Regions from separate parts of the Homo sapiens genome. Here region 2 is linked to region 1. Evidence: promoter capture Hi-C in human tissues and cell types (Jung and others, 2019). All regions are on one chromosome and are shown on one strand. Each heading gives the region's core, a stretch centred on a gene start or on the middle of the fragment in contact. The rest is flanking DNA. Distances are from core to core; before and after follow the strand shown.

Evidence for each region. Contacts are between HindIII fragments. The study calls those that stand out against the background at their distance.
Region 2: a contact is called between a fragment that was not itself captured here and the fragment with the promoter of MB21D2 in region 1, in 1 of the 25 tissues and cell types used here (dorsolateral prefrontal cortex).

The regions. Positions count from the first base shown.
Region 1 is chr3:192,915,395-192,919,937 of GRCh38, forward strand. MB21D2 (Mab-21 domain containing 2) reads right to left here and starts at 2,462. Exons shown (of 2, transcript NM_178496.4): 1 at 2,236-2,462. The coding sequence starts at 2,446. RefSeq lists an enhancer at 1,428-1,757 and a silencer at 2,408-2,767. The HindIII fragment of the contact is 14,649 bases long and covers 1-4,543 here.
Region 2 is chr3:193,541,661-193,546,203 of GRCh38, forward strand. The region is part of intron 1 of ATP13A4 (ATPase 13A4); the gene reads right to left. Among named protein-coding and RNA genes, the nearest start is that of ATP13A4-AS1, 9.3 kb to the right of the region's middle. The HindIII fragment of the contact is 5,057 bases long and covers 1-4,460 here.

The DNA.
Region 1 (4,543 bases), core at 1,212-3,711:
TCCACTTGTGTAGAGCAGCCAGCATCTCATTAAAGGAAAGCAAGGAACTCGCAAATGAATGCAGCACCACACACAGGCAAGCAAGCTCATTTCGCCATCTGCCTTCTAGTGTCCAGAGGGGCAAAAGGCTTAAATGACACTCTCTTGAATCTTCTCTCCTGCAGGTGGAAATGCTAAATTCCCAGGGGGCAAGAAAGACTGCTTGCAAGGTCAACTGGGTAAAAAGGAATAGAAGCAAATCTAGTTTACCTGTCAACACAATGCCACCCATGGCATTAAACACATGCAAAAATTAAGCACCCTAGAATAATTTACTTTTTTATATTTGGATAAAAGCTTTGCTGATTCAGTGTATCAGCTTTGGAGTTAAGCACAGAAGTTCCTCATGAGCCAGGCACTTAAATTTACCCTCCCTACATTATCCCATTTCCTGACCCATGACTACCCTAACTGGTGGTGACCCAGTACCTTCTTCTAGTAAATGACCTACGCAAGTGACATCAGAACTGATCTGGGGGCTGTATTAACACAATGGCAGACTTCCATTATTTATGCCACAGAGAAAGGCTATGATTAACTAAACAACTTAAGTAACTGCGCTCAGCCTTCTGTGTGTGGCCCCACCTTCCTGACAATCACTGTGTTGGCTTTTGGCTTTGTAAGCATTTTAGGCTTCCCTGTGGAAGCTCACTCCTACCAGGTTTTATATATATATATATATATATATTTAATTCATCTATTCATCTACATAGTTGAACGGCTGAATCTCTCAATAGTTTTTCAACCTCATACGCAACGTAAGACACACTTGAAGAGTGCGGCGCAAAAGGTAAAAACCAGCCTAGAGTTTTAACATGTTTCATCTAACTTCCCAACGCGTGAACAACTACCAGCGGACACAGACACGTTCAGTCTGTATTACCCCGTCCTTGGGCAGTGAGGAAGAAGAAAACCTAGAAGGAAGAAGGTATCCCAGGATAGAAGCAGCAACAGCCGGCTGAAACCCAATTAGATTGCAGGAGAAAGAGAAAAGCCCTGTCTTAGTCTGTGGCCAAAAGACCTTTCCCAATCAAATTTTTCAACACCTGGAAAATTGGCTTATCTATTTGTAGAGAGCACCCAGAGACGAGCGTTAGAGCAGCGCTACCCTGGAGTACCAGTTCTTCGGAATGTTGACCGCCGGCCACGCACCGCTTGACAGCCACGGATCCGCTGGCGGAGCCGCAAGTTACAACCCAGGCGCCTGGCAAACTCACACTACACCTCAGTAGCAATAATCCCAACGGCAGGACACCTGGGGAGGGTGGGCTCGGTCTCCCGGGCCTGGCTCAATTATGTTCCTTTACACAGCATTCAATCATGTTTCAGGAGCCGTAGGTGAGGGGCTGGAGGTGGGAGTGGGGGACACATTTTCTAGCCCCCGACGTCTCCGCGGTTGGAAACTCTGGGCACCTCTTTCGGCCAGCGCTAAGACAATACACAAAGAGCAGGGAACCGGCGCTCCTCTGCGGCCAGAGCTCCGCGCCTAGTCACGGAAGAGCTGGGAATTAAGAATTCCGAGCTCAGCGAGAGCCCTGAAGAAGCACCGGAAATGCTTCCGATCGCTTCATAAGAGAAGTCAATTTGCAAATCAAAGTTGCAGGAACTCCGGACGCCTAGACTACTTCAGCGGGTTACTCGGGAACACCCAACAAGTTTGGCCACCGGGGGCTCGGCATGACAGCGCCGCGCCGCGAGACGACAGAAGCAACTTGTCGCTCGGGCGCCAAGCCAGAGCCCTGAGCCGTCTCCGCTCCCAAGCTCGGGAGAGCACCCAAGAGCCGGCGTCGGGAAAGCGGAGGTCCCTGCCTCCGGCAGCCAAATCCCTCAACTGAAGGCACCTCAGGGGCTCACCTGGACTGCACTCGCTTCCAGGGGCTTCCCCCAACAGTGCAACGCTTCACCGCGAACGCCTCACCTGCCTGCCAGCCCCAGGTGGCGGAGAAATTAACAAAAGAGCAAGCGAACAGGGGGAAAGGGAGACCCGGCGTAAAGTATAGTAAGGAGGGGAGGGCAGGCAGCTCGGCTTTCGGCGGAGAAAGAAGAGAGAGGCGGAACAGAGATGGCTTATACCCAAGGCACCGGCTCGGGAAGGCAACCCAGAAGGGAAGAGGTCGAGAAGCGGCAATGGGTTTTCTACTCCGCTTCCCATCACACACACACACGCACACACACCTCCCCCTTTTTCCTCCTTACCCAGCATGGAAAAGATGAAATCCTTGGCTGTGTGAATCTCCAGCGCTCTCTGGTCGTCGTATTCCCGCTGGTCGTGCTTCGTAAATTCTTGGATGAGTTTGTTCAATTCCTCCACCCGAGCTCCCGACCTGAAATCCAGCTCCGGGAACGCAGGCTTGTTGTTACAGCCCAGGGAGGCTGCCTTGTTGGCGGTGGGAGCCGCCATCTTCATGCAAAACGCGCCGAGTAGCAGCTCCGCGGCAGCGCGGCACCCACCCCCGCCCCCCACCCCGCCCCCCTGGGCCTCCTCCCCTCGCAGGCTCCCAGGCTTTGGCCCCGGCTCGTGGGCGGGTTGGCGGGCGGGCGTCTGGGCGGGCAGTCCCCCGCTCCGTGCGCTCTGGGCGTGCGAGCTTCGGGAGGAGCTGGACTGCAGCGAGGGTGCGTGTGTGGCCCCGACACCCTTTTCTCCGGCCCCACGCCCGCCCCGATGCTGCGCGTCCCTGCCCTGCCCTGGCCCTCTCTGGCAGCGGCAACGGCGGTCGTAGAGCCAACTGGAGCCTCCCCCGGGCGAGGAAAGTGAAGTGGAAACAATGTGAAATTCACCAGCTCTGAAATCAACAAGCTGCCGGCTCCGGTGTTACGGAGCCAGCACCAGCGTCTCCATTTAAAGGGACAGCGCACCCAGTGGAAAGGAAAATAAATAAATGACAGAGGTCTGCACGCATATACCACTTGCCAATCCGTACTTGGGAAGACGCGCGAGGTGTGGATGCATTCTTTCTCCACCTCCACGGCCGTCCCCCCATCCCCTTTCTGGGCAGGGTTTGCCAAGCGCATTCAAGGAGAAGAAAGTCTTCCTCCGTTTGATTTTAAGGGCGGTGTCCTGGGGGAGGACATCTCTGTGCGCGTTTACCTCTCTATCCCAAGAACTCCAATACCTTTAAATAGTAAAGGAAACTGCCTTAAGGAATATGAAACCTGTCTTCTACCCTTTTCCTCTTGGATTGCCAAGATGATAGGATTGAGCGTATAAAAAAAGAGGGTCCACATCTAACCCAGTATTGGCACTCCCACTAACCCCTAGATATCCCTACCTTTGCCCAAGGTAATTAATGACCTGAATAACAGCTTATTTATCTTAACATATAATGAGTTAATGAGATTCAACCTACTCTAATATAAAGATAGGGAAACTGAAGTGTGGGTGTGGGAGAGGGGAAACAATGTATTGCCCCAGGTTCCAAGAAATGTTGGATGACAAGATGAAAATTTTCTCATTCAACAGATAAAATTTGAGTACGCACCATTTGCCAGATGGAGTGACAGAATGTGACAGTGATAACCAAAAGACATGGCTCCTACCATGGAGTTAGGCTTACATGACAAGGCAGGTTCAATCTAAGTCATAGTCCTTTAGGCAGAATAGAGTCTCAGAGGTGGTTTTAGTGTTTATGGGGTGTATCATTCAAACACTTAGGAGGCCCATTGGCTGTGAGAAACATAGGTTATCTTCCTCCCTAATTCTCCAAAATCTCTCTTCTCTATCCCACAGTCCCTGATTTAGATCAGGTCTGTTTCACTTTCTTACCCGAGTTCTCATGGCCAAGAATACAAATTGTTTTGTTAGACATGGAAGGAAGTACGGACTCTTCCATGCCTTCCCCTATAAAATGGGAATAATAATTCCTGTCTCACAGGTTGTTTTAAGGATTACGTGAGATAAAACAGGTCAAGCACTTAGTTCAAGGACTGACATAATAAGTACTTAGCTATTATCAGCTTCTACTATTATTGTTATTAATTCTTTCACTGTTCCTCAATCTAGTAACAACTTGTTGCCAGAGTGATCTTTAGAAAACACAGACCTGACCACTGACCTCCCCCTGGAATTCCTCTCTTCTTTACTCCGTTTACACCAAAACCAATCCGCGTCTGCCTTTTTCTTACAGCTTTCCGGAGACCCTCCCCTCAAGCTGGTGGCAACTTTTCCTTCCTCAGAACCTACTCTCAGAAGCTTTCATATGATGCTAATGAATTTTGACCTTGCTTCATCATTGCTTTTTGTTTTGGGTTGTGTGTGTGTGTGTTTGTTTGTTTCTGAAACAGGGTCTTCCTCTGTAGCCCAGGCCAGAGTGCAGTGGCACAATCGTGGCTCACAGCAACCTCAACCTCCTGGGATTAAACAGTCCTTGCATCTAGATCTCTCAAAGGGATTACAGGCGTGAGCCACCACACCTGACCACTTCATCATTGTTAATGCAAGTTTTAGACTAAAAGATTCTTGGGGATGAGGGCTACATCTTATTCATCTTTGTATTTCCTGCAGCAT
Region 2 (4,543 bases), core at 682-3,181, 630 kb after region 1:
AATATTCTTCTGGCAAACTACACCCTTCACTATTTGCAGCTGATGTGCTTCATGCAGAGTTGACTCTGACCCCAACTCTAGGAGAGGGCATGTGACAACAAGCATAGTATTCCAATGGCCACACAAATAAATTTAAAAAGCAAAAATGATTCAGTCAGAGCCAGTGAGAAGAAAGAGTATTTGGCTAAGACTATTGAAAGAAAGGCAAGTTCTTTTTTCCACTTGAAGTGGTACCTGGGGATGTGTAATCCTAGAGTTATCAGAGGGCTCCTTGTGAAGTATAACAATAAAACCCAGCTTGGAAGTTGTGTCCATGGCAATCAGGCAAGAGAAAGAAATAAAGGGTATTCAAATAGGAAAAGAGGAAGTCATACTGTCTCTGCTTGCAGATGGCATGATCCTATATCTAGAAAACCCCATCATCTCAGCCCAAAAGCTTCTTAACCTAATAAACAACTTCAGCAAAGTCTCAGGATACAAAATCAATGTGCAAAAATCAAAAGCATTCCTATACACCAACACTAGACTAGCAGAAAGCCAAATCATGAACTCCCATTCACAATTGCTACAAAGAGAATAAAGTACTTAGGAATACAGCTAACAAGGGAAGTGAAGAATCTCTTCAAGGAGAATTAGAAAACTCTGCCCAAGGAAATGAGAGAGGACACAAACAAATGGAAAAACATTCCATGCTCATGAATAGGAAGAATCAATATCATGAAAATGGCCACACTGCCCAAAGTAATTTATAGATTCAATGCTATTCCCATTAAACTGCCATTGACATTCTTCATAGAATTAGAAAAAAACTACTTTAAAATTTATATGGTACCCAAAAAAAAAAGAGTCCCCATAGCCAAGACAATCCTAAGCAAAAAGAACAAAGCTGGAGGCATCAGGCTACCTGACTTCAAACTATACTACAAGTCTGCAGTAACCAAAACAGCATGGTACTGGTACAAAAACAGACACATACACCAATGAAACAGAATAGATATCTCAGAAAGTACACCACACATCTACGTCCACCTGATCTTTGACAAACCTGACAAAAACAAGCAATGGGGAAGGGATTCCCTATTTAATAAATGGTGCTGGGAAAACTGGCTAGCCATATGCAGAAAATTGAAACTGGACCCTGTCCTTACACCTTATACAAAAATTAACTCAATATGGATTAAAGTCTTAAATGTAAAACCCAAAACTATAAAAAACCTAGAAGAGGCCAGGCACGGTGGCTCACGCCTGTAATCCCAGCACTTTGGGAGGCCGAGGTGGGCAGATCACAAGGTCAGGAGATCGAGACCATCCTGGCTAACATGGTGAAACCCTGTCTCTACTAAAAAATACAACAAAAATTAGCCGGGTGTGGTGGTGGATGCCTGTAGTCCCAGCTACTGGGGAGGCTGAGGCAGGAGAATGGCGTGAACCCAGGAGGCGGAGCTTGTAGTGAGCTGAGATCGCACCACTGCACTCCAGCCTGGGCAACAGAGCAAGACTCCATCTCAAAAAAAAAAAAGCCTAGAAGAAAATCTAGGCAATACCATTAAAAACATAGGCACAGGCAAAGATTTCATGACAAAAACTTCAAAAGCAATTGCAACAAAAGCAAAAATTCATAAATGGGATCTAATTAAGCTAAAGAGCTTCTGCACAACAAAAGAAACCATCATCGGAGTGAACAGACAATTTACAGACTGAATGAAAATGTCTGCAGTCTATCTGACAGAGGTCTAATATCCAGAAACTATAAGGAACTTGAACTTTTATAAGAAACAAACAACCCCATTGGCAAATGGGCACATGGAAAAGAATGCAGAAACCACTAAGAATAAGTAAGCAACACTAAACTAGTCTTGCCAAACCAACCTCATATAGTCTTTTGATAGCCGATCTTAACCAACTGGTTAGGACAATCATTAACACACACTTTATCTGATTTTCAAAAGTCTCTCTTGAGGATTTTTGCTTCTGAATGTAGAATGCTACAAAGAACATCACACTCCCCCTAACAACCAGGAAAAAATAGAGATAATCCACGAAGTCATAAATTTTCTTGAACTCATCAGATAGCTAAGGTTTCAAGGAAATCAAGTAAACCAAATTCCAAAGAACAAGTTCTTCCAAAAAGAAACAGGTTAAAACAATGTTTTTACCTTTTGCATCTCATGAAAGTGATGTTGGCCATATGAGTGATAAGAAGAAATGAGCTAAAATTTTAACAAATTTATAAAGTCCAAGTTTGGACTACAGCATCAGTTTAGCTTGAATATCTAAAGGTCTGAGACTCAGAAAGAGGCTGGCATCCACTCAGAAACTCTTCTTCCCAAGCATCAGTTGGTGTTCATCAGACAGACTGGGGGCAGAGGAGGACATCAGAGAGAGCTCCCTTTGGCAGCATAGGTCTGAAGGAGGTGACTAATGGCTCCAGGAGACAGGCTCAACTTCCCTCTTACTTCTCTGGACTCTTCTCTCCTACTATTTAAGCTTCTGGAATGAGATAGTAACTGACAAAGGCCAATTACTTCTAAGTAAGAAACCATCTGCCAGGACACAAGCAAAAATCAATTGAAGCCGGATGAAGGATAAAGGCAAAAACTTTTACCATTCACTATTCTGAAACCAGGATTCTACATTAAAATCAAATGAAATTAATAGCTAGTGGAGAAGCAAGAAACTCTCACCTAAGAAAACTACAAGTATAAGACAGATTTGGCTGCCACAGAGAGGGAGAATATGAATATTGACAAAGCACTACTCCCTGAAGCTAAGATACAAAGGGATTACCTAAGACTAAGTCTGGACAAGTGCAACAGATAACCCTGTCTACCTCTACTACAAGCCTAGCACTGAGTCATAAGCCCAGGAGGATACCACTGGGAGAGAAACAGGAGCACAAAGAGAGACCACTTCTACAATACAGGAATGCATAGATGACGAAAAAGTGAAGGAGTATCCAGATGATTTGATTTCAACACCTGTGATCCTAATCACTTCTAAGCCCAAAAGATCAGAGATTTAAGACTTATACAAAAAGGGATCTGGAGGTTTTGTTTCTCACAAGTTCAAAATAAGCCCAAAGTATAAAATAACTGCTAAACTAATAAGTACTGTGTGGGGCTTATGTAGCAGTACTAGTACTGGTACTGGTAATAACAGGCTACATCAAAAGCATAAAGTACACTGAGATATGAGCAGAAGGTTTGAAGTCAATCTGCCTATGCTTAATTTCTGTTTTTTTTGCTTCTTAGATGCCAGATTTGGGTATATTATATAGTTTCTCAGTGCCTCCTTTTGTAAGATTGAGGTTAACAACCCACTTGAGTCAGGAGAGAAGAGAGAAACTCATAATATATGCACACATTTTTCAATTCATCTCATCAGAAATATATCAAATAAAGTCAATGTGACATGTTAAATATAAACATGAAATAAGATAGTCTCAGATCTCTCCATCTACCCAAACTTAATTCTTGGATAGTTTTGTTTTAGAACTGGCCTCAAAACATGAAGCATTTTTCACAATATTATCTTCTAAGTACTGATTCTGAAACTCAAGTACCAGAGTTTCAAAATCCTTCAGCCATAGTTCCCCCAAGAAGGCAACAGATTCTGGAAATGCTGAAGTGATTACAGTTTTAGCCAGGGCCCTGCATGTGTACCCACTGAAATCAGAGTGTCCTGGCCTGAGGACATTATATTTCTCTGGAAAGCATTCAGGACATTTGGGCCTCCTCTCTGTTCTTTTTCTGAGGGGCCATTTCAGGTACAGCTGTACTCATTGTCCACAAGAATAGCCTTAGGCTGAGGGAAAAGTTGAGGAGATGGTATTCTGAGCTGCCTTTCAACTCTACCCAGCCTGTGGTTTCAGGCAGCTTACCAAGGTTTATATGAAGGGCACTCAGAAGTAGCTATGAGCCAATTTGTCAAGTCAACCTACTCTGTCTAGTCTTCACAAAGCCTTGAAATGGGCACCCAAAATGAATCTCTTCTGGATCCATCGGCAAATGACTAACTCCCTCACCAAAGTGCCAACTCAAGTTCCTGTGCTCTGTCTTCCATGGGCCTGAGGACCCTATACGGTTCGGCACTGTTAATCATTTGCCAATAGATTTACTCCTTATTTCGTTATTTATGAGTAATTGACACAACAACTGCCATAAATTTCCAGTTCCCATTTGATTTAATGTTTCCAGATATGCTTTTTCTTTCCTTGACCAAAAAATTCACAGCACTTTGAAAAAAAAATGAGTATTACTTAAATTTCTTAAGATGTTTCACAGCGATTTTATCTGTTTTCAAAATGTTTAAATTGTGTGTGTGTGTGTGTGTGTGTGTGTGTGTGTGTGTGTGTGTGTGTGTGTTTTGGCAAGGACCCCAAGAAATCATCTGTATTGAGCCTCGGTTCAATCCAGTAAGGTATTATTATTGAAACTGGCCCAATTGTCTCATAGAAGTGATCTTTATAGTCTTTTAAAATAAAAATATTAAAATTGACTCAGGTCTTGAAGATTGAAACTTACATTTGGCCCTCCCTTAGGAA